Regions from separate parts of the Homo sapiens genome. Here region 1 is linked to region 2. The links are contacts of gene promoters, found by promoter capture Hi-C in blood cells and fetal thymus (Javierre and others, 2016). All regions are on one chromosome and are shown on one strand. Each heading gives the region's core, a stretch centred on a gene start or on the middle of the fragment in contact. The rest is flanking DNA. Distances are from core to core; before and after follow the strand shown.

The links. Contacts are between HindIII fragments. The CHiCAGO score rates a contact against its expected background, and 5 or more counts as called.
Region 1: a fragment that was not itself captured here is called in contact with the fragment with the promoter of SLC12A6 in region 2 in 1 of 17 cell types (non-activated CD4 T cells); the score reaches 5.4 in non-activated CD4 T cells.

Annotation. Positions count from the first base shown.
Region 1 is chr15:50,352,262-50,355,764 of GRCh38, forward strand. GABPB1 (GA binding protein transcription factor subunit beta 1) reads right to left here and starts at 2,937. Exons shown (of 9, transcript NM_016654.5): 1 at 2,724-2,937. It overlaps GABPB1-IT1 (GABPB1 intronic transcript), which reads right to left and starts at 2,618. Exons shown (of 1, transcript NR_026891.1): 1 at 1-2,618. GABPB1-AS1 (GABPB1 antisense RNA 1) reads left to right here and starts at 1,913. Exons shown (of 1, transcript NR_024490.1): 1 at 1,913-3,503. RefSeq lists enhancers at 1,921-1,980, 2,719-3,342, 3,411-3,490 and silencers at 2,111-2,320, 2,331-2,580, 3,161-3,210. The HindIII fragment of the contact is 954 bases long and covers 1,777-2,730 here.
Region 2 is chr15:34,335,543-34,339,361 of GRCh38, forward strand. It overlaps SLC12A6 (solute carrier family 12 member 6), which reads right to left and starts at 2,239. Exons shown (of 26, transcript NM_001365088.1): 1 at 1,790-2,239; 2 at 868-1,210. The coding sequence starts at 1,138. RefSeq lists enhancers at 304-353, 414-483, 685-804 and a silencer at 2,094-2,653. The HindIII fragment of the contact is 4,998 bases long and covers 1-3,819 here.

The DNA of each region.
Region 1 (3,503 bases), core at 1,004-3,503, about 16 Mb after region 2:
TTCATGGTACAGGAGATGTGGTCCATTACAATGACACAATGTTATGGGAAAAAACACACTAAAACCAAGCATACTTTTTTTTTTTTTTTTGAGACAGAGTTTCGCTCCTGTTGCCCAAGCTGGAATGCAATGGCGCTATCTTGGCTTATTGCAACCTTTGCCTCTCTGGCTCAAGCGATTCTCCTGCCTCAGCCTCCCGAGTAGCTGGGATTACAAGCGCGCACCACCACGCCCAGCTAATTTTTTGTATTTTTAGTAGAAATGGGGTTTCACCGCGTTAGCCAGGCTGGTCTCAAACTCTTGACCTCAGGTGATCGGCCCGCCTCCACCTCCCCAAGTGCTGGGACTGCAGGCGTGAGCCACTGTGCCTGGCCAAACCAAGTGAACTTAACCAAGATCCAATCTATTTTCGTTTGAACAGCAAACATTAAAAGTACACCTGGTATTTTCTAACAATTACACGAAGAATGACCAGATGCTTCCTGTTGATGGAACAGTAGAGAACTATAGACTGACAGATTCAGACTACAGTTCACAGAAACAACTGGAAACAAACTTAGCTTCCTTTCAAAGCCATTAAAATACGGCCTTAAATTTTTATGCATTAATCAATTAAGTATAATTGTCTCCCAATAAGTATAATTGTCTCCCAACCTAGAAAACCCAGAATGATTCAGAGAGACAAAGAACTCTAAGGATATGTCTCTGCAAACTGTTCGTTTCACCAAAGGATTCACTGCAGAATTAATTTTCTGTAAAATCTGTACCTCCTATAATTTTCAACATGTTCTATCTTTAAAGATAACATTTACACAAGTGTTGATAGCATATGTGGAATTCACGTGTTACTTGTGTAAATCATTATAAATATGTAATAGAATTAAATGTTTTAATCACTTAAGAATATCTTCGAATGTTCCTGAGTCTCCGAGATCATAGGCAGATTATGCAGTCTTCATCTGTGATTTTGTTTAGTCACCTAAATTCCAACTTTTAAAAAAGTTAGAGCCCAGTAAAAAAAGTATGGGAATCAATCTTATTCAGTCTTGTTAAAATGTGTCTTGCATAACAGCTTGATTTGACTTGTATGGTGAAAGCACGGTAAGAATGACACATTTCTGTTTTTTGGTTTTTTTTTTAAAAAAGTATGAGTGTACAGTGGAGTGTTCCAGAGGTTACATGGTGTGCTAACCACAACAGTCTGACGTAGATCTGAGAATCTTCTATTAAACCAGGCATTAAAAAGATTTGCAAAAATGCAAGATGTCACTCTTATCATCTATGTTAACATGTAATGGATTTATTTTTTGTTTTTGGAAAAAAAAAACCAAGAGAAAAGAAAATAAAGTCATCTTTAGTTTCCTTAAATTCAAAGTCTGAGCCTGAAAATGGAAGTATCAAAGCTGATGGTTATACGTCAGTGAGAAAAAAATTTAAACCAAGCTGGGTGGGTCTTTACATGAGATAAACTATCTACAGGAAAGAATGACCACTAACTTCTGCATAATAAATGAGAGTGGATCTTTTAATTCTGAGATGGCAATGTACTTTACAAGGACCATTTACAGACTACATCAAACCTTTTTCTAGATAAAAAACGTACTTCAGTAACTTGCCTGAATTGAGAGAGCAAAACAGTCCGGAGAGAAAACTTAAAATGTTTCCACATTATCAAGCCCCCTTCAGAAGTACTGTGGTCTCGGCCCCTCCTTTGAACAGATGTCCGCTCGCCACAGTCCAATCAGGTTTAAAGCAAGAGTATTTGTACTGAAAACAAGCTTAAAGTGGGAAGACACACACAAAGCAGGCCTGTATCATTCCTTTGGTTTCAGTTTTCACGATGCACCCTTGAGGCTAGGCACGCTGATTCAACACACTTGGAGAGCTTCACCGAAACACACTAAACACACAGTGATGAACTGTGCCCTGGCAGAGATGACCTGGCAAAATTCTCAACTTCTTCCCTGAGGCAGTGCACCCGCAGTTCTCGGCGGCGAAGTCTTTGGGGCAGAAGTCCCGAGCCTTCAGAACGGCAGGCTTCTCCCCCTCAGGACTCCAGTCCCCGCGGCCAAGGCTGTCGCTGCGGGGGCCCCGCGCGGGACTGGCCAGGCTCTTCCATTAACCCTGTCTGGTCCGGCCGATCCCGCCGCGACCCGAGCGCCTCTCGGCCCCGCAGCACAGGGCGCCCAGGACCCGCCACCCTCGCCGCCCGTTCCCCTCTCCGGAGAGCCCGGCGGGGCCGTCAGGCTGCCGAGACAAAGGGTACCGCGGCGCCAGAGGCCGAGGCCCAGCCGCGCCTGCCTTCCTCTTTCTCCCGCCCACTGCCAACCTCCAGTCGCCCGCAGAACCTCCGCTGCCTCGGCGCGACCCCATCGCCACCCCGGGGCTGCCGCTCGGGACCGGCAAGCCGGGTAGCCGCGAGGCGGCCGCGGCATGCTAGGGCCGAGGAGGGGGCGGCGGCCGCCACCATGTCTGCCCGCCCCTCCCAGAAGCAGTGTGCCCAGCGGACAAAGCGCAGCGGCGGCGCGGGCGCCCAGGCCGACCCCGCCGACCCCCGCGGAATAAGCGGGGCCAGGAGCCCCGGAAACCCGGCGCCTTAATGCAATAAACAGGAAATCGCGGGGATGATCTGGGTTCCGGGGGAAGTGGAATTATTTTTTACCAGCGAAGAGATCAACTTCCACATCCGGTGGTAACAGGGCCCTACACAGACCCGCACTGACCTGGAAAAGCTTCGGGAGCGGCGACGGGAAGGCAGCAGGAGGTGGTGCGGGGACCCGAGGCGCCTCGTACCCGGCCGGGCTGACGCGGCCCCGCTACACACAAAGCGCTTCAGCTGCACAGGGCGCTATTTTCCGAAAATGCCGCGTCTGGTCGGCGCCCAAAATCCCCACCGAAAAGTCCCCCGTGCTGCGCGCGGAGGGACACATGGTGTGCGAGTGAGTCAAGCTCCCAGCATCCCTCCCGGACCCGGCCCTCTTCAGCTCATCGCCCGAGGATTTTCCGCCTCTGCCCTCGTCGGCAGATCCTGCTCCTACCCACTCCCTAGCTGTGTTCCCGCGGGGAGAGAGGGGAAAGAGGGTCTGATTTTTTAACGAAGGGAAAGAAAATATGCCATTTCTAGCGCTTCAGCCACACAAAGAAAGCGGCGGAATGATCCGCTCTCGGCGACCGCAAGTCCCGGCTCGCCCGGCGCCTGCGCGGCAGCGGGGGTGGGAGCTGCGGACGGCCATGTGCGCGGCGGAGAGGCCGGGTGGCCACCGAACCTTCCCGCCTGTTCTGCGGTGGGTAGGAGTTTGGAAACTAATGTTCCTGTGCTAACCTTCGTGTCTCTGTGACATGACTGTTGAAAGACGGAGAGTGCGGAATCTTTGGAGTTTTAAGCTTGCCAACTGTGCGGCCTAGCAGAATCCTGGGAGACGGAAGGACAGCCAAGAGGCTAGGATTTACCTTTAAGTGTCCCTAGATTCAACTAGGCAGACTGGGACGGGAGACGCTGTGAA
Region 2 (3,819 bases), core at 989-3,488:
ATATAAAGCAGTACAGGTCTCAAACTTTTAAATTTCAGAGTCCAAAAAATGTTATGATCTCCCCATTTTCTCTCTTCTCTCTCTTCCATCACCTCTTCCCAGTACCTCAAATAAAACCAAGCCAGCTGACACACACAAACTGGTTTAGGAAGCTAAAGGTCTGTAGCAGTCAACATGAGCCAGGAGTGGCTTGTGTGCTACCTGCTAACTCTAATCATCAGACTTTCCATCTAAAGCTCAGAGAGAATAAATTACATGGGAATCAGGCCCTAAAAGCCTTTTCAGAAGTCTTCCATTTGACAGAATAGCACATTAGGTCTACCCACCATCACCCTGAGTGGGCTTAGCTACTTGTGTCAAGGTCTCCATAAAAATACAGATTTCAAAAAAGAATTTTGCAATACACATTCGAAGTCTTGGAGGAAAGCTGCTAAGATACGACCAGTAACTACTCCATGAAACCAGTCTTAAAGCAGACTGAAATAGCCAATGATGGCTACAGAACACATATCCAACTCACTAAATTTTAAAATTTAGGATTCTGTGTGCTGAAAACGATTACATTCTTTGATATTCACTTTTAACCAAAATACCCATTTCATTTCTAAGAAGACAAAAATGAGGAAGTTAAAATATACATTTGCCTTCCTTCTTGTCATACACCTTCCCACATACCAAATTACTACTGCAAAGAGCCACTATGCTATTATTCCAAAGAGTTCCTAAGCATCTCACAAAGAGATGCCTTGGTTCCTGATGACTATTATAATCATAATTATATGATTATGATCTTCCAGATCCATAGATGGTCATCTTGGATAAAGAACCCAGTAATGAAAGTATGCTGCGGTCTGTGTTTCTACTTACCCTCGATGACATCCTGGGGGTGAGAAGTCCGGTCACTGGGTGGATCCAGTGCAACAGTTGCCAGCGAAGTGGTGGCCCCAGACATCTCACTCATAGGCTCACTCCGGCTTGTTTCAGGCACGCTTTCCCGGGAGCTAAATCTTACTCGGGAACTAGATCGAGAGCTGAGGTCCGGACTGGTGTCTGACAAACCTGGAATGTCATCGATCTTTGTCGGTGTCACCATGAACCGAACTGAAGCCATCTTGGTGGTGGTTTCTGGAGGATGCATTTTGTTCTTTTTAAGAACAAAAAAAGTGGGGGGAACCTCGCAAAATCTTCCTCTTACGCTAGCTACTTTTGACTGCAATACAAAAGATAACTTGAAAAATAACACATTTCAATAACCTTGATTCACACCACACAAAAAGCCCCAACTAAGAATACTTCTACTCAGAATTCAAGCCGACTGTCCTAGAAAGTGCATCACCAATAGGTGAATATATTTTTTAAGAGAGAAAAAAACAAAAAACAAAAAGACAAAACAATGCCAATCTTGTGTGACTTCTTTCCTTCAGAATGAAGAGCTACCTAGCTAACCCCTCTGGTCCGGGGCTGAAGGCTCAGTGCCATGGTCTCAGGGCAGCAGATGAAGCCTCCCTCCCCTCAGCCCCCAGTTTCCTGTCGAGGTAGTCCTTTATCTGGTGAGTGTCCCACGGTTCTAGTTGGGCGAAGTGCGTGCAGGCAAACCTTTATCAGGCGACTATAGCGTGGATCAGATTGCTAAAAGGTGTACACCCGGCCACCTGTTGTGTATCAGGTGAATACCCCACAGGTCTGGCTGGGGGGAGGTGTATGCAAAGCCACCCGGTGTTTTTGATGTCGACAATCCACTTGGGTCTGGTGGGAAAGGTGCACATGCATAACGGGAAAAATAACCCACACTACTGAGAGAAGGGTGAGCAGAGGAGGATGCAGGGGCAGAGCGGATTCCTGTCTCCGAGAGGTCGGTGGGGGTGGCGCGCCCGCTCTTCTCCTAGCAGAAAGGTCCTCGGGGTCTGGGAGGAGGTTAGCGGATCAAGACACCTCGGACTGCAGCTCAGAGTCGTGGCAAGTCGTAGCTAGTCCACTGAGCCACGGTCCGCTCGCTAGGTTTCTCCTGCGTGTGACAGGACGAGCCACCCCCTTTGCCGGAGGCGCGTTCTCCCCTACCCCCGCCCCGGCGCAGGTCACCCCCTCGTCGTTCTTCCTCAGGGTCCCAGTAGAGGAGGAGACGGCCACGCAGGCTGGCCTGACTGGGCAGCAGGGTGAGGGAGAAGGAGGTCGCAGGTGCAGTATCCCGGCGCCAGCTGATGCGGGTGCGCGCGCAGCTGTTGTTTACTAGCCGGTAACTGTTTCAGAGCCGCGGCGCGCGCAGGGTTCGCGCTGCCGGGGCTGGCGCCCCCTCCCCGGCCCGACGCCAGAGCAGCAGTTACGTGACCTGGCCTCCCCCAGCCCCGGGCCCGACGGGGTGCGCCCGCGCCGCCGCAGCCCTTCCCTTCCCTCCCCGCTTGTTCCTCATTCGAGGTGAACCTTGCGAAGAGAAGCCCGGGGGTGCAGTGAGAGGGCGGAACCGTCCCGCGGGCGCCCGAAAGCCCCGCCCAGCCGCCGCAGCCCGCGGTGACCGAGTGCAGCGCGCCTGCGCTCGCCGCGGGACACGGCAGGCGGGGCGGGGCCGAATACGAGTGGCCAGGGGCACGACGGGAGCTGTAGTCCAGGGCACGGCCCGACCCGCGTGAAGAGGGGAATAATCCTTTTCCTCGGTCCGGCTGTGCTGCACACTCACTCTGGAAGCATCCTAGAGGGCGGGCGCTGCTCCTCACCCTCAGAACCCGGGGAGCCATTTCTCTTTCATGAGTGTCTCTGAAAACATCATTCATGATTTCTTTAACCAGAAACACCGCTCCTATACCTGGGAATAACCCTCATTGTAATTTTTATGTAGAGGTCTACATACAAATAAACCACTTTTATGTAAAAAAAAAAAATTAAAACTATAAAGTAGGCCTGGCGCGGTGGTTCACGACTGTAATCCTAGCACTTTGGGAGGCTGAGGCGGGCGTGATCGATCACCTGAGCTCAGGAGTTCCAGACCAGCCTGGCCAGCATAGCGAAACCCCGTCTCTACCAAAAATTCAAAAATTAGCCGGGCGTGGTGGCGTGTGCCTGTAATCCCAGCTATTCCTTAGACTGAGGCAGGAGAATCGCTTGAGCTTGGGAGGCGGAGGTTGCAGTGAGCCGAGAACGCACCATTGCATTCCAGCCTGGGGGGACAAGAGCAAAACTCCGTCTCAAAGAAATAAATAAATAAAAATAAAACTATAAAGTACCTTAAACACATTTGTCCTACTTTAATTTTTTGTTGTTGTTCTTGTCCTTTTAATAAATGCTATGTCCACTTTCTAGTCAGACTGAAAGTTCCACTAAATAATACGTTTTTTTATACCTGGAGAAGACGTTGATGTATTTTCTCAAATCCATTCCATGTTTTCACCACTACATTTGTCGCTAGAATATTTTTTCTTAGTGTTTATTTAATGTATAAATGGTGGTGTTCGATAAATTCTGACTCACCAATGTTTTGTTTGAAAAGCTATTTCCTATAGCTGTGATCAAGACCTCTAAATTTAACAATCACCTGGGCCCAGAAACTGGCCCCCGGTTTTGCCTGGGGTCTTGGCTCCTCACAAGTGGTTATGTTTAAGCAGCACTCCTAGCAATGGGAACTGTATTCCCGGAAGTTCTCTTTTATCAAATGACACACAAAGTCCAAATCCTTTCAAGGATTAAAGGATCAAAAAGGTTAAAAAGATCCTGGTAACAAAATGAGAAATCCTAATGTAAAGTGTAAACCTCCTAAAGTTTGACTCTTTATAAAGTCTGGGTTTCTTGATTCAGGCCCACAGCTTTCATCCATCCTCAGCAGGATCAATT